Regions from separate parts of the Homo sapiens genome. Here region 1 is linked to region 2. The links are contacts of gene promoters, found by promoter capture Hi-C in human tissues and cell types (Jung and others, 2019). All regions are on one chromosome and are shown on one strand. Each heading gives the region's core, a stretch centred on a gene start or on the middle of the fragment in contact. The rest is flanking DNA. Distances are from core to core; before and after follow the strand shown.

The links. Contacts are between HindIII fragments. The study calls those that stand out against the background at their distance.
Region 1: a contact is called between a fragment that was not itself captured here and the fragment with the promoter of WIPI1 in region 2, in 1 of the 25 tissues and cell types used here (liver).

What each region holds. Positions count from the first base shown.
Region 1 is chr17:69,225,334-69,231,749 of GRCh38, reverse strand. It overlaps ABCA10 (ATP binding cassette subfamily A member 10), which reads left to right and starts at 2,926. Exons shown (of 39, transcript NM_001377321.1): 1 at 2,926-3,169; 2 at 4,465-4,605; 3 at 6,221-6,416. The coding sequence starts at 6,392. The HindIII fragment of the contact is 7,757 bases long and covers 170-6,416 here.
Region 2 is chr17:68,455,789-68,462,626 of GRCh38, reverse strand. It overlaps WIPI1 (WD repeat domain, phosphoinositide interacting 1), which reads left to right and starts at 5,131. Exons shown (of 13, transcript NM_017983.7): 1 at 5,131-5,285. The coding sequence starts at 5,206. It also overlaps a transcript of PRKAR1A not described here. RefSeq lists silencers at 4,689-4,975, 4,712-5,391. The HindIII fragment of the contact is 15,120 bases long and covers 1-6,838 here.

The DNA.
Region 1 (6,416 bases), core at 2,799-5,298, 770 kb before region 2:
AACAGCTGCAGAATACACATTCTTCTCAACAGCACATGGAATATTCTCCAGGAAAGGTCATATGTTAGGCCACAGAACAAGTCTCATCAAGTTTAAAAGAATCAAAATTACATCAAGTAGCTTTTCTGACCACAATGGAATAAAACTAGAAATCAATAACAGGAGGAACATTGGAAATGGTACAAATACACGGACATTAAACAACATCCTCATGAGCCACTAATGGGTCAATGGAGCAATTAAAAAGGAAAATATTTAGAACATTCTTGAGTCAAAAAGGGGGAACATGATATACTAGAACCAAAGGGATACAGCAAAAGCAGTTTTAAGAGGGAAGTTTATAGCAATACTTGCCTACATCAAAAAAGTAGAAAGATCTCAAATAACCTAACATGGCAACTCAAGAAACTAGAATAACAGGAGCAAACTAACTCAAAATTAGTAGAATGAAAGAGACAAATACACAGGAGAATGCCATTTGAAGACACAGGCACATAGAAGAGAGAATGCCACGTAATGACAACACAGATATTAGAGTTACGTATCTGCAAGTCAAGGAATGACAAGGGTTGCTGGCAATCACCAGAAGCTGGGAGAGAGAGCATGGCTTTTCAGATAGGACAATGATTTTTGGACTTCCGGACTCTGACACTTTGAGCAAATCAATTTCTAAGGTACCCAGTTTGTGGTACTTTGTTATGGCAGCCCTAGGAAACTAATACAATGGAAATTTGGGCAGGGAATGTAAGAAGATGAGCTAGTTTATAAGATATTTTATAAGATAAGGTAGCTTAAGAAAGCTGGCAGTGACAATATTTTCTCATATGTAATTGCCAGTCATATGTAAAGAAAGATGGAAGGAGAGAAGAGATTGTAATAGAAATTAACAATAAAATAAAAAGAGATAACCAAGAGAGCTAGATTTTTAGATTAGGTAATAGAATTTGATCGAAGGATTCTGCAGTGGTGTTGAGTTTAGAAAAAATTGGCTGAGTTTCCTCTGGGAAATTAGAATGAAATAGAGGTATGTGGAGGAAAACTTCTGCCAAATTGCCTCTGATTGTTCATTAATATAGTACATTTACCTGCTGAAAGCCATCGTGCTTTCAGGGGTCAAGGACTCAAGAGTAAGGAAGAGTTTGATGAGGAGGTGCTAGTTGGTATTATGTAACGTGGATGTGCATAAGCCTAAATCTGGAGTATTTCAACATTCTGACTCTGTAGCAGAACTGTATAATTATAAATATGTAAAGGCTAAGAATGAAAAGGGTCCAAATCCTATTATAAATGTGTAACAGAGACCTGAGGATTTTATATGACCTCTCCAAGGGACACAGACAATGAGTGACAAGTCTGCAATGCAGGTCTCAGACTCCCAACTGTACCGTATTGGAGATTGAAATCCCTAAAATTATTGTCTTAGCTTGTTTTTTATTGCTATAACAGAACACCACAGATTTAGTTGTACCCAGCAGACTGGGTAATTTATAAAGAAAAGAAACTTATTTCTCACAGTTCTGGAAGCCGAGAAGTCCAAGAGCATGGCACTGATATCTGGTGAGGGTCATCCCACAGTGGAAAGGTGAAAGGTGGAAGCATGTGCATGAGACAGAGAGAGAGAGAATTGGGCCTAACTCATCCTTTTATCAGGAGCCCATTCCCAAGATAATAGTGTTAATCCATTTATGAGGGTGGAGCCCTCATGACCTAATCACCACTTCTAAAGGCTACACTTCTCAATGCTGTTTCATTGGTAATTAAATTTTAACATGAATTTTAGAGGAGACATTCAAATCACAGCAATTATGGAAATAAAAAATATTTTAAAAATTTGGTGATTAAGAAGGGTGTATGTCTGTATTATAGTATGATTTTAATTGTTTTCCCCACCCATTTAAGTGAATATTACCATTAATGTCTGGGATCGGAACCAGGTTAAGTTTCATGTTTTCTATTTCATGAACTTTTACTTCTAGTAATGATTTTGCCTGAATAGGAAGAGAAATGTCACTAACAACAAAGGAAAGCAATTAAAGTATGCTTCCTTTGTTGTTAGTGACATTTACAATTAAAGGAACCATTTATTTCCATATTCCTAATGAAAATGGTAATCATTTGAAGAGTCTCTGAGTCCTTTACCCTTTCTGTCTCTGTCACTTTCATGAATGGGCATTAGCTTCTGTATGCATACCAAGAAGTGTATTATTATAGTTAAAATCACATAAAAAGATTTTCAGGGTTGATAAAGAGGCATTATTTGCCATTCTGAGAATATCCAATTTAGTTGTAGCTGAAAAAAAAGTAACAAAATCATTAAAGTTATGCCATCTAGTCTATACCACTACACTTTTTAAATGGGTATCAGATATCATTGTCTTGATTAGCACCATTTTCATAGTGGTAGTTAAGAGTGAGGGATCTTGGAGTCCAGATACTATTCTGGACTCATCTGTTGGCTTCACACTTATTTAAACATCTGCAAATAACTTCACCTGTTAGCCCCACCTTTCAAATTTGTTTAATGGATGTGAGTAGAGTACCAACTTTGTAGGTTTGCTTTGAGTATCAAATGGGAGAATTCATTTAAACCCTTAGAACACTTTCTAGTACATAGGAATTAGTGAATACAAGGAACCATTTAACTGAAATGCAGTTAACTTTCAGATGAAACTTTCTCATTGGAATGATTCAGATTTCTGAGATGAGCAATCCTCATTTTCTCTCTCTCTGTTCAACTTTATCTTTAATTTGCTCCTTTTTTAGCTTGGCTGTCAAATTTTTAATTATTAAAAGTCATGCAATTGTAAATATGTAGTTATCCATGCAATTGTAAATATGTGGGTTTTTCTTTTTGAATTTGATCTCTTTTTTTGTGTGTATGCCAAAAAGAGCAATAAACAAATACCAATGATGCGCTCAGCCAACAATTCATTACACTCTCTGAAGAGTAACTGGACAAGGAGAAAAACATAGGGAAAAAACCAACAGAATTTGTTGGCATGTTCTACACACAGACCATGGCTTTTCAGAAGCCAAGCTGAATCAAAACAGTTTTAAAAGAGGCAACCATTTGTAGAGGAGTCCTTGAAGGATTCTTCATTGTTTTCTTGGACAAAAAGAGACCAGTGGATCCAAGTGCTTCAAATACTTCTCTCTTATTTTCTTAACTGTAAGTTAAAATTTGTTTTACATTTTCACTTTGCATAAGGTTTTAAAGATATAAAGTATATAGCCAAAGCCAAACATATTGATTGAAATTTTTAAAATTATATTATTCAGATGCTCTAAATTATTTTATGCTTTATGTTATAGTACTAGTGAGTTATTTTATTTTAAAAACTTATGTAACATTTTAGTGTGATAAATGAAAGATGGCTAGATTCAGAGGTGTATATAAATATTATCAGACAATAAATTCTCTCTCTGACACTGCTTTGAATATCCTTTTGAGAATTTGTATGGTTTTACTTCTTTAGAATGTGTGAGCATTAGGGCAAGTTCCTTTTTTCTGTGTTCTTTTGTTCTTTTAAAATGTTTTTGTGGTTTGCTTATGGAGCTGTTTAAGTAGACCTCTGTATCCATAAAGTGAAGATTGGTGTTTTAATGTTTCTACTTTCTTAAGTTAGAATTTAGAGATTATATTGGGTTTTGCTGGCTTTGCCTTTTATTTTATGAAAAAGGGGAAATATAGCAAGTTCTCTCTGAACATTGTAATTTGTATATAATATCAACATTTATTCAAATGGACTTCAGTAGTCATAGTTGTGACACCAAATGATCAGCTCTGGATTTTCAAATTGAAAACAAAGAATAAGGATCATTATTACAAATCAATTACTCTAGTCATATTAGCCAATATTTTTGGTTTTAATCTGTATGTATCTTACATATTTACTTCATAAATGGAGATTTAAAAAAGAGGAATTAGCTTTTTGGGATTCTAAGAATGGCCGTAATGTTTTCGACTTTGCTTTGCCCAGTGGTTAACAAGATATCAAATACATGTGCCCAGATGTGCAATTCAAAATAAGACAGCTTGTGGTCAAATTGCTGACTGACAAGGAACTGCAAAGTGGTTTCTTCCTGTTAAACTTCTTTTTCTTAACAAGTAAAGAGAAAGTGTTTTTTGGATTCTAAAAATTACTAAGATCTTATTGAGGGATTTACTTTAGGTGGATGTAATGTTAAGATTTCATGGAAAAAAAGTGACTTCTGAGACAAAAGGAGAAAGGTCTTATATACTATCTCCTTTATCTCCCTCATAGCCATAAAAGCCTGGAGAGAAATAACAACTGAGAAGACATTTTATAATTACTAATACTTTATATTCTTTTTTAAAATCCTGATTGAATATGTTGCTACAGTGTCATATAAGGCATTTAGTTGGCACATCTGAAAATTATGCTTTCAAAATGTTCAAAGGCTTTCTGTAACTGAACTTTTTTTTTTTCTTTTTTCCCCTAGCTATTGCTCTGCAATATTTACTTTACCCTGTTAATGAACAGGACAAAATGGTTAAAAAAGAGATAAGCGTGCGTCAACAAATTCAGGCTCTTCTGTACAAGAATTTTCTTAAAAAATGGAGAATAAAAAGAGAGTTTATTGGTATGATTCACTATATATATATATATATATCCATAATTAATAAATGAAAATCCACCATATAGTATTATGCCATTTTTATTACTTTTCTTGTTTATAAATTCTGATTTTTAATTATCATACTGGCTAGTTGATTTGAGATTCTAAATACTGCAAAACGATATATATTTTGCAAAATAGGATAATATTTGTGTCAAATGTGAAATTAACTAAAAAGCTCATCTGACAGCTCCTGAAAAATAATCTTTTGCAGAATAGAACCAGCCATTTTCCACATAATTAATGCATTCAAATCTCAGAGTCATTCTGATTTACTCTTAGCTAACTTCTGTGTTGGGGGCAGGGACAGCCAGGGGAAAGATAAGCTAGGCAAAATAAAATAGATTTTTACGTGGGCAAACCCTGATACTATTTGGGGACATTTCGATTAATGTCATGTTATTTGGTAAGGCTGGGAAAATATCTATGAGTAAAAATCTGCAAACTTTTTTGGAATCTCTTCAAAGCCGTGCTTTTTGTAAACATAGAATGGTTTCATGGAATAAGATCACAGATTGTCAATACCTTTGCATTCTGTTGAGTTTCTTGTATGCTGACATGAATATTAAGACATTGCTTTGTGTTACTATGAGATATAACTGGATCTGCCTTGACCATGTAGAGATTGCAGTCTGTTCAGAAATAGTCAGTACCATTTCAGTGGGAGCTAACAGGATTTATATCATCCTTTTAAATTTCTGCAATAGCTTCCGAAGCAGTTCGATCAAATATTTTGCTTCGTATATTGAAGAAGGATACATCTATATTTATTACTCACTAGAATTTAAAAAAAGTATGTCAATCCAGAAATGTGAAAATATTGGTACAATGAACACCTATACATCCACCATCCAGATTTGACAGCTGTTAACATCTTGCCATCTTTGCTTCATCTCTCTGTCTCCTCTTCTTCCCTAAAATATATGTAATGGCTAAATATTTTAGTATCTCAAAAAATTAAGAACTTGGTTCCCTACATTACCACTATCCCACTACACAAAATTAAAAATAATTCCATATCATCTAGTTCCATGGCCAAATTCAATTTTCCAAATTTCCCCCAAAATGTCTTTTAAGGTTGATTTGTTCAGGAACCAATGAGACAAAACTAGTTATCCTGTTGAATATTCCATGTTCTCTTTTTATCTGATTGCCTCTCCATGCTGTCATTTAAGTCATCCCTTTATCATCTATATTTTTTGTAAGCAGTGAGCTGGATCTAAAAGCAGGATCCAATTCTGGTTAAATATTTTTGGCAAGAGTATCTTCTGTGTGATGCCATATACTTACGTTGCTTCAAATATGAGGGCATAAAATCAATGGCAGTCCCACTAATAGGGGTGCTAAATCACTGGGTTAAGATTGATTGCAATTGTTGATATTATCTCAAAAGTTGTGTATTTTTGAAAGGGTGTTTTTTTCTTTAAAAGGTAGATATTAATTTGGGCAGAAAAAAATTACAGACTGAAATGAAGTCATGCTCAATGGCAATACATTCTGCCTTAAAAATGTGTTTGGATGTTTCTCACTGGTCTGGACCACGTTATAACATGGCTCATTTCTCTTTTGTGTGCTGGAGGAATGGACAATAACATTGTTTCTAGGGCTATATTTGTGCATCTTTTCGGAACACTTCAGAGCTACCCGTTTTCCTGAACAACCTCCTAAAGTCCTGGGAAGCGTGGATCAGTTTAATGACTCTGGCCTGGTAGTGGCATATACACCAGTCAGTAACATAACACAAAGGATAATGAATAAGATGGCCTTGGCTTCCT
Region 2 (6,838 bases), core at 3,882-6,381:
CTTACTCGACAGTCTCCACTTTGGCATATGCAGCTGCCTGATGGGGATAAACATTCCTAGACCAGATAGATGTGGTTAGCGTCACATGAGAAGATCTATGACGCTCCAAACCAAGCTTTCTATAAAGCTTGGTCTTCTATTTTCAAGTATCGCCTATAATTATATTCTAAAATTTAAGGCAGGGTGATTGGCTGACCTGCTGAACCCGTCTCTGTGTTCTTGACCAGTGCGAAGATGCCTCGGTGAACAAAAACACCTTGATTGAACCTCTCTGCACTGGCATGGGTAACAGACTCTCAGCTCCAAGGACATTAGCAAAAGCACTTGTAGAAAGCAACTGTCTTCGTGATCATCAGCCAATCAGCAAGCATTTATTGAGAACCTGTAATTCACCTTGGTGTTTTAGGAAGGCTATTCTGGAGGCAAAAATAAGACAGGTGAGGGGAGAGAATGAAGATTAAGACATCAATTCACTCTTTCATGAAATAACATTTTTCCTGACTCTTGGGAAGGAATATATAAGTCAAGGAATATTAGAAGTGTTGTTAGTTTTTGCTCCCTGTCTCTCCCCTTTTAATCAATAAATCCAGAAATAATGGTTCCATTTGGGGGACAAGGGCACATGATAGGGCCTCTTCATTCACTGCAGCCATGCTATCTCACACACACTGTCTATAATTAGAAACAGAAAACCCAGTTGCACCTGCTGCTCGGCCAGACTTCTGGCTGGGGCTTCCTGCTTGCCAATCAGTTCGATCATCTCCTTTCCCAGAAATCACCCCACAGCCCAACCCCTCCTCTTCTACCCTGGCACCATAGGGCTGACTCCTTGAGCTTCCTCCACGTACTGACACATCGCCCTTCCCTCCCTCTCCCTCTTGGCTCCATTGTCCCAGGGCCCTTCCTCCTTTACCCTTTCTCAAAGGGCTACCATACACTGGTCCATTAGAGTTCAACTCGTTCTCAGTTCATGTTCTGAGTGTTGCCCCATAGCAGAAAAGAGAAAGGAGATTATTTCCTGTAACTTGATTTTATAAAAATAGAATGGACTTTATAAAAAGAAGAATAGGACAGGAGTGGTGTTTGTTCACCTAGTAGTTACTTTAATTGTAGATGGTTGGGTGCCATGAATGACCATATGGGGTGACAGGAGTGTTGCATCAGACAGGATGTCTCATTTCCACCTTCCCCTGTGAATGCCCTGTGCATGCCCTAATCAGCATTTTAAAATTACAACCTGATTGTTATACAAATAAGAAGTCTCTCCATTAGATGAACTGTGGCCTGCAATTTTGTATTACCAAACATGTTTTTAATTCCCAGAGCCCAGCTTTATTTTCCCAGATTTTGCTGACTGGTAAGTAACTTACTAGTTACTTACGAGTAAGTTTTCCTAGAAATAATGGAGTTTTTTGTTTGTTTGTTTGTTTTGTTTTTCAGGGAAAAGATAGACATTTAGGAATTTCAGTTGAAAGAAAGAGAAAGGCCAAAATCTTATTCCCACTGGAACAAAGCATTGTCCCCTGCCCCACCTACCCCATTATCTTTTGCTGATGTTATTTAGTAGTGAAATTGCTGTTGCAAGAACTTGTAAGACTTAGGTTGCCCATAAGCCCAACATTCAAATCAAGAGTGTCCTCTCCCACAGAACCCAGAACTAGAATGTTAAAAAAGAAAAACCAGCCTGACATTAAATGGATTCAGCACCTCTTAAGTTATTTATAACCTTGCCCTTGGCTTTTTATATGAATGGACTTCTGGGAAATTTTTTGAGGGTGGAGCTCTTCAAAGTGGCTGCTTACACCTCTAACAGAAATCACAAACCAGCCCTCCACAAACCACATCCAGCTAGCTGATGTATTTAGTTTAGCTTATGAGGTACTTTTTGAAAATAAGAATTAGTTTTCATCATTTTTTAAATTTACCTACAAATACAGGTTTTTAATAAAATAGGCACAGATTTATATAAAAATACAGACTTACATATTGTCTTGGGAAAAATGAAATCAGATGAGGCAGCCCTGAGATGTTATTTCCACATGGCTGGTGCCATAATGGACCATTAGCCTGGAAAGAAACATATAAGGGGGACCATTCACAGGAAAGGCTGAGGCTGGGAAGGTGACCATTTTTCTCCCGTGGCCATAGCTCTAGATCCAAACCTTGATTCCAGTAAGCATGCAGTTCTGCTGCTGATTTAAAGTGTCTGAAATGAAATACAACTTCCTGAATACCTGACTGAAGATCTAGTTTCTAAAAGCAACCCAATGGGCTTCCCCTTCCCAACCATGAAATCAGCTTTGACTCTTCCCTCTTCTTCCCTGCCCCTCCCCCTTCCCCATCAGTTGCCATGCCTGTCATTTAGTCCCTCAAGACTCTACTGAGAATAAAGTAGCCACCAGCTACATGAACACTTAAAATGTGGCTCATGTGAACTGAGATATGGTGTAAGTGAAAAATACACACCGGATATTCAATATTTAGTTCTAAAAAAAAATTAAAATCTGAGGCCAGGCGTGGTGGCTCACGCCTGTAATCCCAGCACTTTGGGAGGCTGAGGCAGGTGGATCATGAGGTCAGGAGTGTGAGACCAGCCTGACCAACATGGTGAAATCCCGTCTGTATTAAAAATACAAAAATTAGCTGGGCATGGTGGCGGGGGCCTGAAGTCCCAGCTGCTTGGGAGGCTGAGGCAGGAGAATCGCTTGAACCCGGGATGGAGAGGTTGCAGTGAGCCTGGTGACAGAGCAAGACTCTGTCTCAAAAAAAAAAAAAATTAAAACCTGAATTAACTGATTAGTAACTTTATATTGATTATCTTTATATTGAAATGATATTTTTGACACATTGGATTAAATAAATGATATTATTCCAATTAATTTGCCTATTTCTACCTTTTTAAATGTATCTTCTAGAAAACTGAAATTTACAATGTGGAGTTCACATTTGGGGCTCATTTTATCTACTGGACAGCAATGCCTGAAAACAACTCTATGATTTGGTCTAATTTTCTGGCCTTGTTTTCATCACTTTAGCCTAGTCTCTCCTGTCCCTTTACTTCCAGAATTTCACATTAGTCCCCTAAAGACTTCTAGATCTTTTCCCACTTCTAATTTGTTCTGCACACCCTGGCCAAGTTTATCTGACAAAGACACTGCTTTTTTATCATGAAACACTCCTGCTCAAAAACTAACACCAGCTCCCAGGTCTATCCCATAAAGTCCAAACTCTTAATAACAAACTGATAATAACAGCTTACACTTTAAAAACTTTATGGTACACTTCATGTAATTCTCCAAACAACGTAGCACCTAGCATGCCAGATTCTAGGTTTTCTAACCAGGACAGAAATGACTGCAGCATTTGACAGAGCTGGAAGGTGGGGGGAAGCACCTTTGATCTGAAAGGTTACAAAAATGGCACAAAGTATCTAAACAGCAGTTCCATTCACTTCTGATAGTTTATACAACACCTCACAATCAGCCAAAGAGCAATAACATCTGTGAATCTATGAGCTGAACTATTTTTTACATCAGTGGAGAGAAAAAAATAATAAAGTTGAGAAAAGAAACTGTTACATTTGCATCTCAGAAAACACAAACCGGAAATCCAACCAGAAAGGTTTAGGTGAAATAGTGCCCTTTGTTCATCTATTGTAGGTCCAAGGTTAAATATATATATATATACACATACATAAAAGTAGCTTTGTCATAAACTGGGTATTAAAAGTGGGAAATGGGGAAAACCGCAATTACTTTTGCACCAACCTAATAAATTTGAATTATGCTGATTTGAGAGACTGTCATATAACAATAACTAAAATATCATCTCAAAATTTGAAAAAATGAATTAAAAATCCATCAGCAGTTATACAATCCAAAGCTGGCAGAGCTCCTGCTTCATAAACCGTATTGACAGTAATTCCGCATGGGAACATGTACAGTACTCAGCTTTTAAAAAGAGATTCTTTGTTAAGGTTTATCTCGAATTACGTGAGTTTTGAATTGTGCTATATCTTCAAGACGTTACCCCTTTCATAAACTACACTGCCCTACACACACTTTCATTTTTTTCAGCTGCGGATCGGATAGGTCTTGTTTAGATACTTTGTGCCATTTTTGTAACTTTTCAGATCAAAGGTGCTTCCCCCCACCTTCCAGCTCCGTCAAATGCTGCAGTCATTTCTGTCCTGGTTAGAAAACCTAGAATCTCGCATGCTAGGTGCTACGTTGTTTTTGCAAATTACTGTTTAGCAGTTATTTAGTGCACAGGTCTTGAAAGCAGACATGCAGACATTCTACCATTTACTGTTACTTTAGACAAATTGTTTAGCTTTGGAGCTTCAGTTGCCTCTTCTGTATATTGAGCACAATCGTATTTTCCACACAAGTTTTATAAGAATTCAAGATGACATACATAGTACGGCGCGCTTGGCAAGTAGTGAGGGTTCTCAACCGCTCGGCAATGGATAAGATAACTTGCTATCTCTCTGGCTGAGGCAGCCCCATTTCAGGAGCTTCTCTCAATGCGGCTTGAGGACTCGACAAAAGGGTGGGGCTTTGGAGTCTAACGCTCTCTGCTAAACTCTGTAAGTTTAATAGGCAGAGTTACACATGGCAAGGGGTCTGGGCGGGGTGGGAACTAGCGCGTCCTCCTGTCACCCTTGCGGCGGCCCCGACGCAGTTGCCGGACTGAAACCAGCAGATCTGGCCCCAGCCGCATTCCTTCTTCCCTCTCCCTCCCAGCTGGGCGGCTCCGGCAATGAAAACACCGCCACGTGGGCCTGCTGCCTTTGCGTCACGCGCCTTTGTCCAATGGAGAGCCGCGTTACGAAGCCAGGGGCGGGTCGCCAGCCGGGCGGGTCCGCCCACAGCTGCCACGGATTGGCCAAGGGGGGCGGTGCCCGCCAGCCGTGGCTTGGGCTCGTGGCCAATGGTGGCCGGAGGCAGGGGCCCCGCCCTATCAGGTGCTCTGGTCCTCGGGACCAGCTGGAGGGGCGAGAAGGGGCGGGGCGAAGCCGGGGACGCGGCGGGGACGGGGCGGGGTAGGGGCGGGGTGGGGACGGGGCGGGGTAGGGGCGGGGTGGGGACGGGGCGGGGTAGGGGCGGGGCAGGACCGGCGACCCGGCCCGTGGAGCCGGCGCGGGCGGGCTGCTGAGGTGGCTGTCGCCGGCTCCGAGCTGCGGCTTCCCGGGCCGAGCCCCCGATGGAGGCCGAGGCCGCGGACGCTCCCCCGGGCGGGGTTGAGTCGGCGCTCAGCTGCTTCTCTTTCAACCAGGACTGCACGTAAGCTGCGACTCGGCCCCTGCCAGGGAGGTGGGGGACAGAGTGTCAGGACCCAGGGGTGTCGTCCTGAGAGCAGCTTGTGGCTTCCGCCTCGAGGCGGCCTCGGCGGGAGGGCCGGTGTCTGCTTCGGACGCATTGGGATCTTGTTATCCCCGTACCCCTTCAGTGGGGTTTGCCGCACCCCCCACCCCACCCCACTCCCAGTGTCCTCCCAGAGCGACAAGGTTGGGCCAAGGGTGAAAGCAGGGAGTTCGCAAAGGGAGTGGTGGGGCTGCGGGGGCCACGGAATATGGGGGGAGCAGGGCGGTGGGAAAGCCAGTGACCAAAGTGGGTGTCTGGGGAAGAGAGACAGTGGCCAAAAGAAAGAGATGAGAAAGGAGAGGAAGTTGCAAGTTGACCCAGGACTCTGTAGTTGGGGCCCAGGAAGATGAGAGTACAGGAAAAACTTTCCCATTTGTCCTTGAGCATCTCAACGTGGCATCTGGGCAGGGCCTCGGACAAAGAGGCAGCCTATCCCTGCGGCCAGGCCAGCCCCTGTCCCATCCCCGACGCAGGGCATCGTGCCTGCCCGCTCTGGATGGAAGAAACCTTTGGATTTCTTTGGCTGTTTTCACATCGCCCACCCAGCCAGGCAGGATCTCCTTCTCGGAGTCCAAGACTCTTTTCCCGGGCGCAGACTGCTTTCTCTCCAGGAAACAGGAGCTCCACCCTGTTGTTTTTGAGTGGATTTTTAATGTTTTACTTCGATGTTCACATTTGGGCTTTGAGAGGGAGCTGGGCTGAAGTGTGTTTCAGGCATCTGCAGGATTCTGTGACTTACAGGCAAACGCCTGTTTCTTTCCCTATTTTCATGGAAGCGAGCCCTGGGGACCATATGGAATCATCTTTTTGGAATGTGCACCCTGAGCATCAGGCGGGGATGACCGATTCCCAGTTTCCCACTTCCTGCTGTACCAGTTTCTGTGCCTTGGCTGCTGGTGACTGAGCTACGCTAATATTGATCCTTCAGTGGTGTAATTAAGGCCATTATGTACCATTAGCCACCCTGGCTTCCATTCCCTTTATGTTTCTGTTTAAAAACACCCGGTGCTGAACAATATGCCTTTGTTTGAAAAACCCATATGTGTAATCATGTAATCGAGTAGCTCTACAGCTTGGTTATTTGAGTGACTTTCAAGTTTTTCTTGACCACAATCCACAATACGAAATATGTATTGCAACATCACCCAATACCCATAACACATACACTATTCACAAAATATCATGTGCAATTTTCTGTGTCCTTTTTTTCTAAGCTGCTTGTGACTCACTGAATTGCGTTTTAGGATCCACTCATGAGTTGAGACCTGCAGTTTATAAAAATGCTGGTATAGATAAAATCCTGATGTTCTGTAAGAAACATTTTGCAAGAGGGCATGGCTGTTGAAATGCCTGGGTGATGTTTTCCTTCCCAATTGAACACAAGTTAAGAAAGGGGGTTAGTTTGCTTGTAAGTAGTAAATGTTCTAAATTCTGCTTTGTAACATCATTAGATTTGACAAAAAAGGGTGTTA